3 separate regions of the Homo sapiens genome follow, and regions 2 and 3 are each linked to region 1. The links are contacts of gene promoters, found by promoter capture Hi-C in human tissues and cell types (Jung and others, 2019). All regions are on one chromosome and are shown on one strand. The core of a region is centred on a gene start or on the middle of the fragment in contact, and the rest is flanking DNA. Distances in the headings are between cores, read along the strand shown. Region 1 holds the start of LRRC69 (leucine rich repeat containing 69). Region 2 overlaps TMEM64 (transmembrane protein 64). Region 3 overlaps LINC01030 (long intergenic non-protein coding RNA 1030).

Evidence for each region. Contacts are between HindIII fragments. The study calls those that stand out against the background at their distance.
Region 2: a fragment that was not itself captured here is called in contact with the fragment with the promoter of LRRC69 in region 1 in 2 of the 25 tissues and cell types used here (aorta and spleen).
Region 3: a contact is called between a fragment that was not itself captured here and the fragment with the promoter of LRRC69 in region 1, in 2 of the 25 tissues and cell types used here (dorsolateral prefrontal cortex and lymphoblastoid cells).

Annotation. Positions count from the first base shown.
Region 1 is chr8:91,100,701-91,104,109 of GRCh38, reverse strand. LRRC69 (leucine rich repeat containing 69) reads right to left here and starts at 1,491. Exons shown (of 8, transcript NM_001129890.2): 1 at 1,266-1,491. The coding sequence starts at 1,448. The HindIII fragment of the contact is 5,612 bases long and covers 513-3,409 here.
Region 2 is chr8:90,625,613-90,629,332 of GRCh38, reverse strand. It overlaps TMEM64 (transmembrane protein 64), which reads left to right. Exons shown (of 3, transcript NM_001008495.4): 3 at 3,471-3,720. The coding sequence ends at 3,662. Among named protein-coding and RNA genes, the nearest start is that of TMEM64, 19 kb to the left of the region's middle. The HindIII fragment of the contact is 3,185 bases long and covers 1-2,969 here.
Region 3 is chr8:90,599,234-90,602,840 of GRCh38, reverse strand. The region is part of intron 1 of LINC01030 (long intergenic non-protein coding RNA 1030); the gene reads left to right. Among named protein-coding and RNA genes, the nearest start is that of LINC01030, 5.0 kb to the left of the region's middle. The HindIII fragment of the contact is 6,470 bases long and covers 1-3,607 here.

The sequences.
Region 1 (3,409 bases), core at 242-2,741:
ATACATTAATATAACTGTATCTAGAAGATGAAGAAAAATGATGCCAAAAATAGACAAATCAATAAAATAGATGAGTTAAAAGTGGTTATATATGGAGATCGGGATTGAGGATGAGGGGAAGTGGGATAGAAGATAGCTTCTTGCTATAAGCTTTTTGTAATATTTAATTCTCGGTAACCAATGGTTAGTACTACTTTAATGGAAATAAATTCAAATAGAGGGAGAGAATAGGTTCATGACTCAGTCAAGTCCCAAATTCTTTTGCAAAGAAACTCCTCTTTCCTATTAAAAAATTCCAAGTCCTTGTTGTCTTGTAACTACAAGTATACCTTCTGCAATTACTAATGAAGGGGGACTTTGTAAAAGTTACCCTATTTCTTATAAAGATACAACTACAGATTACAAACTCAATTTCTTAAACGTAAAAGGAAATGAGGTAGGGTGAAAGTAAGAAAATACAGATTTATTTTTTGGAACTGTAAATTCAAAATTAATGAGCTATAACGCCTTAGCTGCTTCTAGGTTCTTCCTGTGCTGATGACAATTCAGCAGTGAACAAAAAGAAAATTACAAAGTTAATATCCCTTGCCTTCTCTCAACCTCAAGATTTTTGGCAGCTAGAGTTTCACATTGTTAGGCAGAAAGGTTTAACACAAGCATATGGGATTCATTCATGTCAACTATTCCTCTTTAAAAAAGAATATTTTTTATTTAAAATATTAAACTTCCTTTAAAGACTATTTCAGGAGAAATAAATGTCCCCTCCTTCCTATTCCCTGCCAACACTCCATTTCAAAGTTTCAGCCTGCCCTAGGAAATTGAAAAGGAACTCCCTTGCTGCATCCTAAATGTCTCTTCATTCTAAATGCAAAAGCTTCAGGACAGTCCCCAGGGTGAACAGCATCTCCTGGATCCTCAAAACTACTTCCAGATGTAAGCCCCCAAGATAGACGACCAGATCCAGGTTTCCAACCCCTTTCCAGATGACAGCCTCTAAAAAGATGAGTGTGGCAGAGACCTAGTCCCCTGACTCCAGATGTGGGCCAAAGAGCACATGAATAAATTGAAACATCTCTCCCTACCACATGGAATTCCCTAAGGGAGAAAGCCTTCTGATGCCTCTCCAGCAACACTCCACATTAAGTCTCCAGATACCTAAGTCTCCATAGATCGAAGTGTTATTGTTCTGTCTCTTACCCCTTTTTTCTCTCTTCCTGTTTTCCATCTTCAATACCAAACCACAACAGCAAAACACTGTTCCTCACCTGGGTCAAGTTGCATAACTCTGGACACACTTTGGGGATTAGGTTATTCTGAAGGACTAGAGTCTTCAGGCCAGGCAGTTTTCCTAATGCTGAGGGCATCTTTGTCATCTTCTTCCCATTCAAAGTAATGATCTTCGTATTTTTACCACCACTCAATGCTTTTATTAACAATCTCTCAGTCATGATCTTGGAAAAGAAGTAGAAAACAAGGTAACCATTAGAGTTCTTTATTATACAGCTTTAGAACCTCTAATTACAGAATTGGTGTGTCATAGAAACAAGAACATTCTGAGATCCACCATGTTGAAGGGGGGAAGCATTAGATTATTTTCCTATGTGAAAGATACGAAAGGAAAGTAGATGGTCCAGGTTTGGGGCAGGAAATGTATAATGTAAGCCTAAAATAGCTTATGCCTGCGATATTAAAGCTATCAGAGATTAATGAGGACACAGAAGTGAACTTCTAGGAGCTCCCACTAGTCTAAGATGGAAAATATTAAGGATCAGAAAGAAATAATCTAGAATAGACTGAAACATATCAAAACACATTAAAATCTGAGTTCATAATGGCATTTTTTAAAAAGAAACATTACTCACCCTGGGAATTACTAGCGCACCAACTCAGTCTGAAAATTGATAAAGGAAAAAATATAAGCATTTATTCTGCTTTTCCAGTACAAACTGCACTTAAATATAACTTAATAGTTAATAAAGTTCTTATTCACAAGAATTGAAACTAATAAATGAGAAAGACAAAATAACTAGAATAATCACAATTTTTGCAAATTCTAATAAAATAATGGAGCTATGCAAAAATCATAATTGGAGACTGAAAGTATTAGATGAAAGGTTGATGAGGAACTTTATAATCAAGTGATCAGGTTAATAACCCACTAATCATTTTAGCATCAATAAAATTGAGACAATCACATTATAAGCCTTATGAAGTAATGAATTAAAAAGTACACAGCAGCACCACCTATGAAATGTTCCTGTCCAAAAATTAAATCTGAATCTAATCATGGCTTCAAGATCTAACTACCATTTACAAAAAAACAGAACTAGAGAATAAGTTAAGTTCATTATAGGGAAACAGTCAAATCTATAACATGGAAGATTCTACAGGACTGGTCCCTGGTCCAATGTCACAAGGTTTCACCAACAAATGAAAGACATTAATAAAAAGGAGGGAAAACTGTTACGATGTAAGTGAAACTTAGGGCAAATAACAGCTAAATGCAATGTCTGGACTGTATTTGAATCCTCAGTTGAATACAAACATCTCAGGGAAATTTGTTCATCGGCTATTAGATGAGAGAAATTAATTCTGTTACATGTGAAAATGGTATGGTGGTAGTATTTATTTTAAATGTGCTTAACATTCAGAAATGCATACTGAAATTTTCAAGTGAAATAAAATGATATCTTGAGTTTTTTTAAAAATAATCTAGGGGGGAAAGTGGGTGGAAGAAACTGATCAAACAAGATTGACAAAATGTTGATAATTATTAATGCTGAGTAATAGACACATAGGGGTTTGTATTTGTCCATTCTCGCACTGCTATAAATACCTGAGACTAGGTAATTTATAAAGAAAAGAGGGTTAATTGGCTCACAGTTCTGCAGGCTATACAGGAAGCATGGTGCTGGCATCTGCTCAGCTTCTGGGGAGCCCTAAGGAAGCCTACAATAATGGTGGAAGGCAAAGGGAGAGCCAGCACTTCACATGGCCAGAGCTGGAGGAAGATAGGAAGGAGGTGCTACACACATAAACAACTAGATCTCAGGATAACTCACTCACTCACTAGCAGGAAAACAGCACTGAGAGGATGCTAATGCATTCATGAGAACTCCACCCCCAGGATCTAATCACCTCCCACCAGGCCCAGTCTCCAACACTGGGGATTATAATTGAACATGAGATTTTGGAGGGAACACAAATCCAAACCATATCAGCATTCATTATATTAGTCTTGTTATTTTTGCATATGTTTAAAAATTTCCAAATAAAAGATTTAAACGGTGACAAAAAGGAGAGGGAGGGGAGTTGTGGCCAGTAACATTTGATTATTATCACAAGCCCACTAGCACCCAGATAGGATGAGTCTTAGAGGCATTAGGATTACACATGTATGTGACACACT
Region 2 (3,720 bases), core at 128-2,627, 470 kb after region 1:
TTAAACTATAGAATCTTCTTTTATTCAGTGATTTCTCACCCTTTGGCTAAGCTGGAAAATTTAAGCTTAGAATACAAGACAGTGGGGAAAGCACATATTTCTTAGCCTAGGGATTTATGAAAAGAAGTGAAGACATGTTTACGCTTGTTTGATTTAATTGATATTAGTTACAGCTTAATTTGTATCAGGAGGCATTTAATGCAGCTTACAAAATATATACAAAAGGAAAAAAAGAGAGCTTAGGTTAAAGCTAGCAGAATAAGTATATTCATGAGATTCCTCTTATTTTCTAGAAACGAGCCACAAATTTGCCTCTGAGTTTTATGGCTGTCAGCCTAAAATAAAGCAATACAAAATAACTGTTCATAGGAAGCCACAACCATTTCTTGTACAGTTTGATTATCCCTTATCTGAAATGCTTGCAGCCAGAAATGTTTTAGATTTTGAATTTCCTCAGATTTCAGTATATTTACATTGTGCTTACCTGTTGAGTATCCCTAATCCAAATGTCTGGAATCTAAAGTGTTCGAATGAGCATTTTCTTTGAGTGTCTTGTTAGTGCTCAAAAACTTCGGGTTGGAGCCTTTGAGGTTTGGAATTTCTGGGTTAGGAATGCTCAAACTGTACTGAAATCCAGCTTAGATTCTGTGGTCTATTTAGTTACTCTTCCATGCCTGTTATTTTTCTATGTATCTACTAACCAAAACCCCAAACCTGAATACATCCAAGTTTTATCTGCTTTGCCCCTATTCTTTTGGGGAAGTCATGTAACCAGACACATTGATATTTAACTCATGGTTGCAAATCTTCACCTAGTTTCTCGACACTGCCCCACATCCCATCTCTCTCCTTTGTCTTCTCACTCCCCTGCTGTTGTCTTGAAATAGTTAATTATTTTAAACTATCTTCACTTCTCCTCACAATTTTGACTCCTTCGCCTGTTTCCATCTTTATTGTCAGCAGATTACCTCTCTTGCTTAACAGAAAAATCAGAAGCCTTCAACTGAGAAACCCCTGAATTTGCATATAAGAAATCTGTTAACTTCTTATGTTCCTGCCCCTGCTTAGCTTGCTTTCCAGTTAGCATTAAGAGATGCCTGTCTTTCTGTATGAGGCTTGACCTTCTGCCTGTGTTTGATTCTTTGATTTCATTTTAATAAGGAAACTTTTAAAACAATTGTCTGTACTATCTATTTCCATTTTCTAAACCCTTTTTAACACTTCACTCAGCTAAGGAAGATGGGGAAGGTGTGTTGGGGGACAGTACAAATCGTCAGGCCCTGGGATCAGAAGTGCAGCTGGGAAAGTCCCACTTAAAGATGTAACCATTTCACCCTTGCTATCTGTGGCCCTGCCACTTCCTTCCCTCAAACTGCTCTTCTTAGGGCTGTCAGTAAGCTTGTCTAAATGAGATGTACTTTCCATTTCTCATCTAGCTTGACCTGTTAGTAGTCTAAGACTCCTGACAGTGCCTTCATTATTAAAACACTCTTTCCTTAGTTTCTTTGATACCACTGTCTTAACTTTTTTTTTCCACTTGCCTAGCTTATGCTTAACTTCTTCCTTTCACCCCTTATATCTGTGTTTTTGAAGATCCTAGCTTAAGTTTTCTAGTCCTACTCTGAAAACTTTTTTACAGCAAATCCAGTTACTCTGATGGTTGCTAATATGTGTATTTGGGTCAAGACCCTCCGCCTGCCCTCATCCTACTCCCCAGCACTTGTCTTTAGCTCAGCCCTCTTTCCATAGCTTCAGACCCCTTCACTGACATCCATGAACTTTTTTGGATATCTAAGAGGCACCTCGAATTCAGCATGTCTTAAACAGAAGGTAGCATCTAATTCACAAAGCACCCGCCCCCGCCCCCATATTTTTTTCATCTCTTTACATGGTGTTTCCATTTGTTGATACATAGCAAACTTAGGAGTTTTCGGTAAATATATCTTGTTTCTTTTAAGAGAAGTAACAGAAAACAGTTACAGAATTTAAAGACCCAGCTTTAAGATGCCTAACTTATTTACGATTTTACTGAGTGATGGGTACTCATTTAATGGCACCCCCTTGTGCAAGTTCCAAGTTCCTCCCCTCTCACACTTACCATACCCCCAGTATGCTCTGCTTCTGTTATCTCCTCCCCCAACCACCCTCAGCACTTGGATTTAGAATACTTTCCCTTTAAAGCTTATGTTATAATTATGGGTAGATTTCATTGAAATTGTATTATATTTCCGTATCACTTTTGGTTACAGCAGCCTTTGTAAACTTGCTGGGACATTAAATAACACCTGCTGTGTTTGCTCCAAATCCTAAAGAACTGATTTACAAATGAACTTTGGAATAAAACTCATTTAGAAAATGTACACTGCTTAGACATTCTGAGGAGCTGTACATAGAATGCTAAAGTTGGCCGGGCACTGTGGCTCATGCCTGTAATCCCAGCACTTTGGGAGGCTGAGGCAGGCAGATCATGAGGTCAGGAGTTTGAGACCAGCCTGGCCAACATGGTAAAATCCCGTCTCTACTAAAAATACAAAAATTAGCCAGGCGTGGGGCGCATGCATGTAATCCCAGCTACTCAGGAGGCTGAGGCAGGAGAATCACTTGAACCCGGGAGGCATAAGTTGCAGTGAGCCGAGATTGTGCCACTGCACTGCAGCCTGGGCGACAGAGCGAGACTCCATCTCAAAAAAAAAAAAAAAAAAAGAAAGAAAAAAAAAGTACAGAGGGACCACAGCTTCCTATAGGACAATGAGAAACTGAAGCTTCCCTAAATCACACATCACTAGTGAATAGCTAAGCTAAGACTAGAAACCTGACTTTCAATTTGATCAGTGTGATGATTTTTCTAGTATCCCTTTGACTAACATTTTTAAATAATCATCATGTTTTCCTCTGATTTTGTTTTTTCCTAAGTACAGGCAATTACTTGTTCACAATCTCTTGTTAATTCTTTGGAAGTTTATTGGCATTTCATTTTTTTAAGTGGTCTGTAATACTTTTAATTTTGTCTTCACCAGGTAGTTCATTGCAAATAGTAGTGCTTCTCACTAAGTGGGCTTAGAAATACCTATGGACATTTATAGTCATGCAAAGGTATAATACTACATTAATTATACCAACAAAGTTTAGCCAGCTGTTACCTCTATTGTAGACATTTTTTATTCCTTGAAGAAAGCTTTTTGGTACAAAGAGACAGGTTTGGCTTGTATCAAGTGAACCAAAAGGAATGTGTGTTTTCCTAATACCATGTCATGGTTACCTGTAGACTTTGGTCCTCCACTACCAGGAGAAGCAGCAAAGGAAAGAATAAACAATAACTGTGTGTAAACTATTTAAAAATGTATAACCCTTTACCTACCATCTTTGAGAAGCACCCTGTTTGAAGCATTTCTAAGCCAAATATTTATTGGATTTATTTCTTTTTTTTGTATAAAATATTGATAACTGTAATGTTTTATTTTTATTCACAGATTATTATAAGTATAGGCCTCATGTTTTATGTAGTTCATCGAGCTCAAGTGGAATTGAATGCAGCTATTGTAGCTTGTGAAATGGAACTGAAATCTTCTCTGGTTAAAGGCAATCAACCAAATACCAGTGGCTCTTCATTCTACAACAAGAGGACCCTAACATTTTCTGGAGGTGGAATCAATGTTGTATGATTCTAATGAGATACGTGATTGTCAAGAGCCTAGTGTGCTATCTAAGGTCTAGCAGTCA
Region 3 (3,607 bases), core at 745-3,244, 500 kb after region 1:
TCCAGCCTCGGTGACAGAGCAAGACTCCGTCTCGAAACAAACAACAACAAAACAATTACAATTAGTCTTTTTTGAGTGTCAGTTACTCTTGACTAATAAGTTAAGAATTAGCTTGTTTAGGTGCAGCTGTTACCATTTGGTAACACTTGAGTACATTGAATTTCTTGGCTTCATACTTCTGACAAATGAGCTGATTTAATTCGAGGTCTTTTAACCTCTGGATTGATAAAGCATTTTTTTTTTATTTTACTTTAAGTTCTGGAATACATATGCAGAACATGCAGGTTTGTTACATAGGTATACATGTGCCATGGTGGTTTGCTGCACATATCAACCCTTGATAAAGCATTTTTAAATTTTGTAATCAAATTAGAACTACCTTTCTTATTATGATTTACTGTATTTCATATCACCCCTTTAGAATAAAAAAGAAAAAAGATGCCCTATTGCTTTTCTTACAGGGCTTATTATATATTTGTTTTGTATTTAAATGTCTAACTTTTAGTTGGGAATGAGTAGCCAGGACTGTGCCTTTATTGTGAGATGAGAGAGGCCAGTTGAGTCACATCACGTATTGATTTCTTTCAACTTATCCTATCAATGTAGTTTCCTTACAATAAATATTCCAAAGCATTGTTCTTGTTTTTTAATTAACAAAATGATGCAAGGATCATCTGCAATAAAATTTTGTGAAAATGGCCAGGAAAGCTTTAAAATTATAAAGAAGGACTTCCTGTACCAAAATTTAATATGTAAAGTCATGGAAATCAGAAGAAATAGACTAATGGAACCGAAGAGAAAGTCTAGAATGAGACCTAGGTGTACATAGAATATATTATATTTAAAAGGTAATATCAATAAATAGCATTTAGAAAACAATCTTTTGAAAAGTTTAAAGAAAAATCAGAGGTTTAAAACGGGAAAAATTAAATATAACATGCTACTACCAGAATGAAGGGGCATGGATAAATTTAAAATTTTTAACTTGAAAATCCAAGCCTTAATTCCACCTCCATAAAATACTTAATTTATTCTCATCTGTTATTCTATACATACTGTCTAATGCAGAAACACGTGTTTATTACATTTTATATTCCATTTTATTTAGTATTATGCTCTTTCTTAGGTCAGTGTAGTATTTTAAATTACCATTTTAATGGGTATTTTAACAGTCATCTTTTTTTGCAGGTATAGGTAATTCACAGCTAACAGTTTGCGTAAAATACTTTGGAGTTTTTTCTTTTTGTGTACAAGTATATAAAAATATGTTTGTATGCATTTGCTTCACTGACTATAATGGGATTGTGCTATATACATTATTATCTTTAGTTTTTTTTTCAGTGCACAACATATTTTGGAAACAAGATGACCTTTAAAATCACATTATTTACTGTCAACTTCAAAGAAACAAGGTCTGCTGTGATTTTATTTGGAAATCAAATTGTAAAGAAGTTTTTTGTTCTAAATTAATGTCTAGGCTATATTTATAAACCTTCCTACTTTATCTGTTTTGAAGAATGTACTGTTGCATATTATTCTAATTTCTAAAATTCAAAACCTTAATAGTGAAATCAGTAGTAGTATATTGGGTTACTCGATAATATTTACCATTTCACAGAGCAAAACAAGCCAATCTCTTTTCATTTCTTTTCCTTTCTCTGTGTAGCCTGTGCACAATTGCTTTCTCTTTTTCTGGAGTAGACCAGGGACTCCAATTAGGGTTCAGCTGAGGCAGATATATGGAAATAGAATGTTTTATGGAGCTTTAGCGATGCCTACTAAGGTACACTCAAGTTCTCTTGCTTCAACATCCTTGCCTTCTCAGAAGCATTTGTCTTGTTCTCTGTCTTGGTCATTACCATATGGCAGTACCTAGTACATACAGTGCCTGGTACCTAGTAGATATATTATACATTTGTTGACTTGTGAAATAGTAAAATTATTATTACTTTTTACAGTTCAAACGTTAATATTATTTGCTTACTTTATTGGATTTAATAAATATTTAAAAGTGTTGATATTAATCATTTTTCACTTTTAACGTGTTATGTAAATGCCAGGGTATATAATTTAATACTCACAATTATGCTATACTAAGGATGTTGCTTTTTCTGGGTTACTGAAAACAAAAACATTTAATTTCTTGTGAATTTGATAGAAACTTTCTGAATTTTTAAAGTAAATTTATTAAGGAGTGTTATTATAGAATTCAATGTAATAAATATGGTCATTAGGATTTAGAAATTAATTTTCTTGCTTGTACTTTCAGTAGTTCCAGTGTTTGTTTAAAAATCTACTTTTATGTTAGACAATTTTATATTTCACAAAAAGGAGAGGAGTTTATTTTAGATGTATAGACACAGATTTTTAGAAATGAGGAAAAAATACATCAATTACCCTGAAAATATCTCCCCTAAAACAGTATTTTAAAACTGCAAGCATTCTTTGTGGAACTAAAAATTCATATTAATTAAATGGGTTCCAAAGAATCATTATATTTATCAAGATGATTTCTAAGTATGTTTAAATGACACATAGTAATAATTCATATAGATTATATAAATGAATAAATATTGTCCCTTTGCCTTTGTAATAAGAGATATTTTTGTCCTCTGATGATAGAAATAATTTAGTAGAAAGAACATTATGTGATTGGCTTGACACTACTCAATTAAAAATAAATGCTTGATTTTCCTAAACTTAAAAATACCTTTTTCTAATTAGCATGGCTTGTTGCCTCTAAATTTTTATTAAAATTACAAAAAAATGGGTTGGGCATGGTGGCTCATGCCTGCAATCCCAGCACTTTGGAAGGCCAAGGTGGGTGGATCACCTGAGATCAGGAGTTCAAGACCAGCCTGGCTAACATGGTGAAACCCCCGTCTCTACTAAAAATACAAACATTAGCCAGGTATCATGGCGGGCAACTACAATTCCAGCTGTTCAGGAGGCTGAGGCTTCCTTGAACCCATGAGGCAGAGGTTGCAGTGAGCCAAGATCATGCCACTGCATTCCAGCCTGGGCGACAGAGCAAGACTAAGTCTCAAAAAAACAAAAACAAAAAAATAAAAATTACAAAAAATGCACTTATGTTTCCAGGAGAAATTGCTGCATAAATGAGCTGAATATTATTACCGTCATTATATATGTAACTGGGAAGGAATACTGACAATCCAGCCAATATAAAACAAAAAGTCACTGAAATGTTTGGGACTCAGTCAAAGCATATTTGGATAAATTCTATCGAGCATGTCATGTGATATCTCTTGCTTCGGATATATGAACTTATTCCTGTCACTAGAAATAATGACAATAAATGTATCCTAGTATTTTTGCCCAGGTACCTTGATAAATTGATATTGAAAATGTGTCCATCTTGAGTTTTCTTCTTAGGAAAATGCATAAAAATGCTTCTTGAGATTTATATTATTCTAGAGTAGAATTATTTTTTAATTTTATAAAGAAATTTCTTTGCAGCAAATTATCGACGTGAAAACACAGAAAACTCAAAATAATTCTCAGCAGATTTCAGATACTGATTTTATGTTCTAATTTTATCTAGTGGAAAGTAAAGTACTAATTAAATATCCTTCTATCACAGAACATA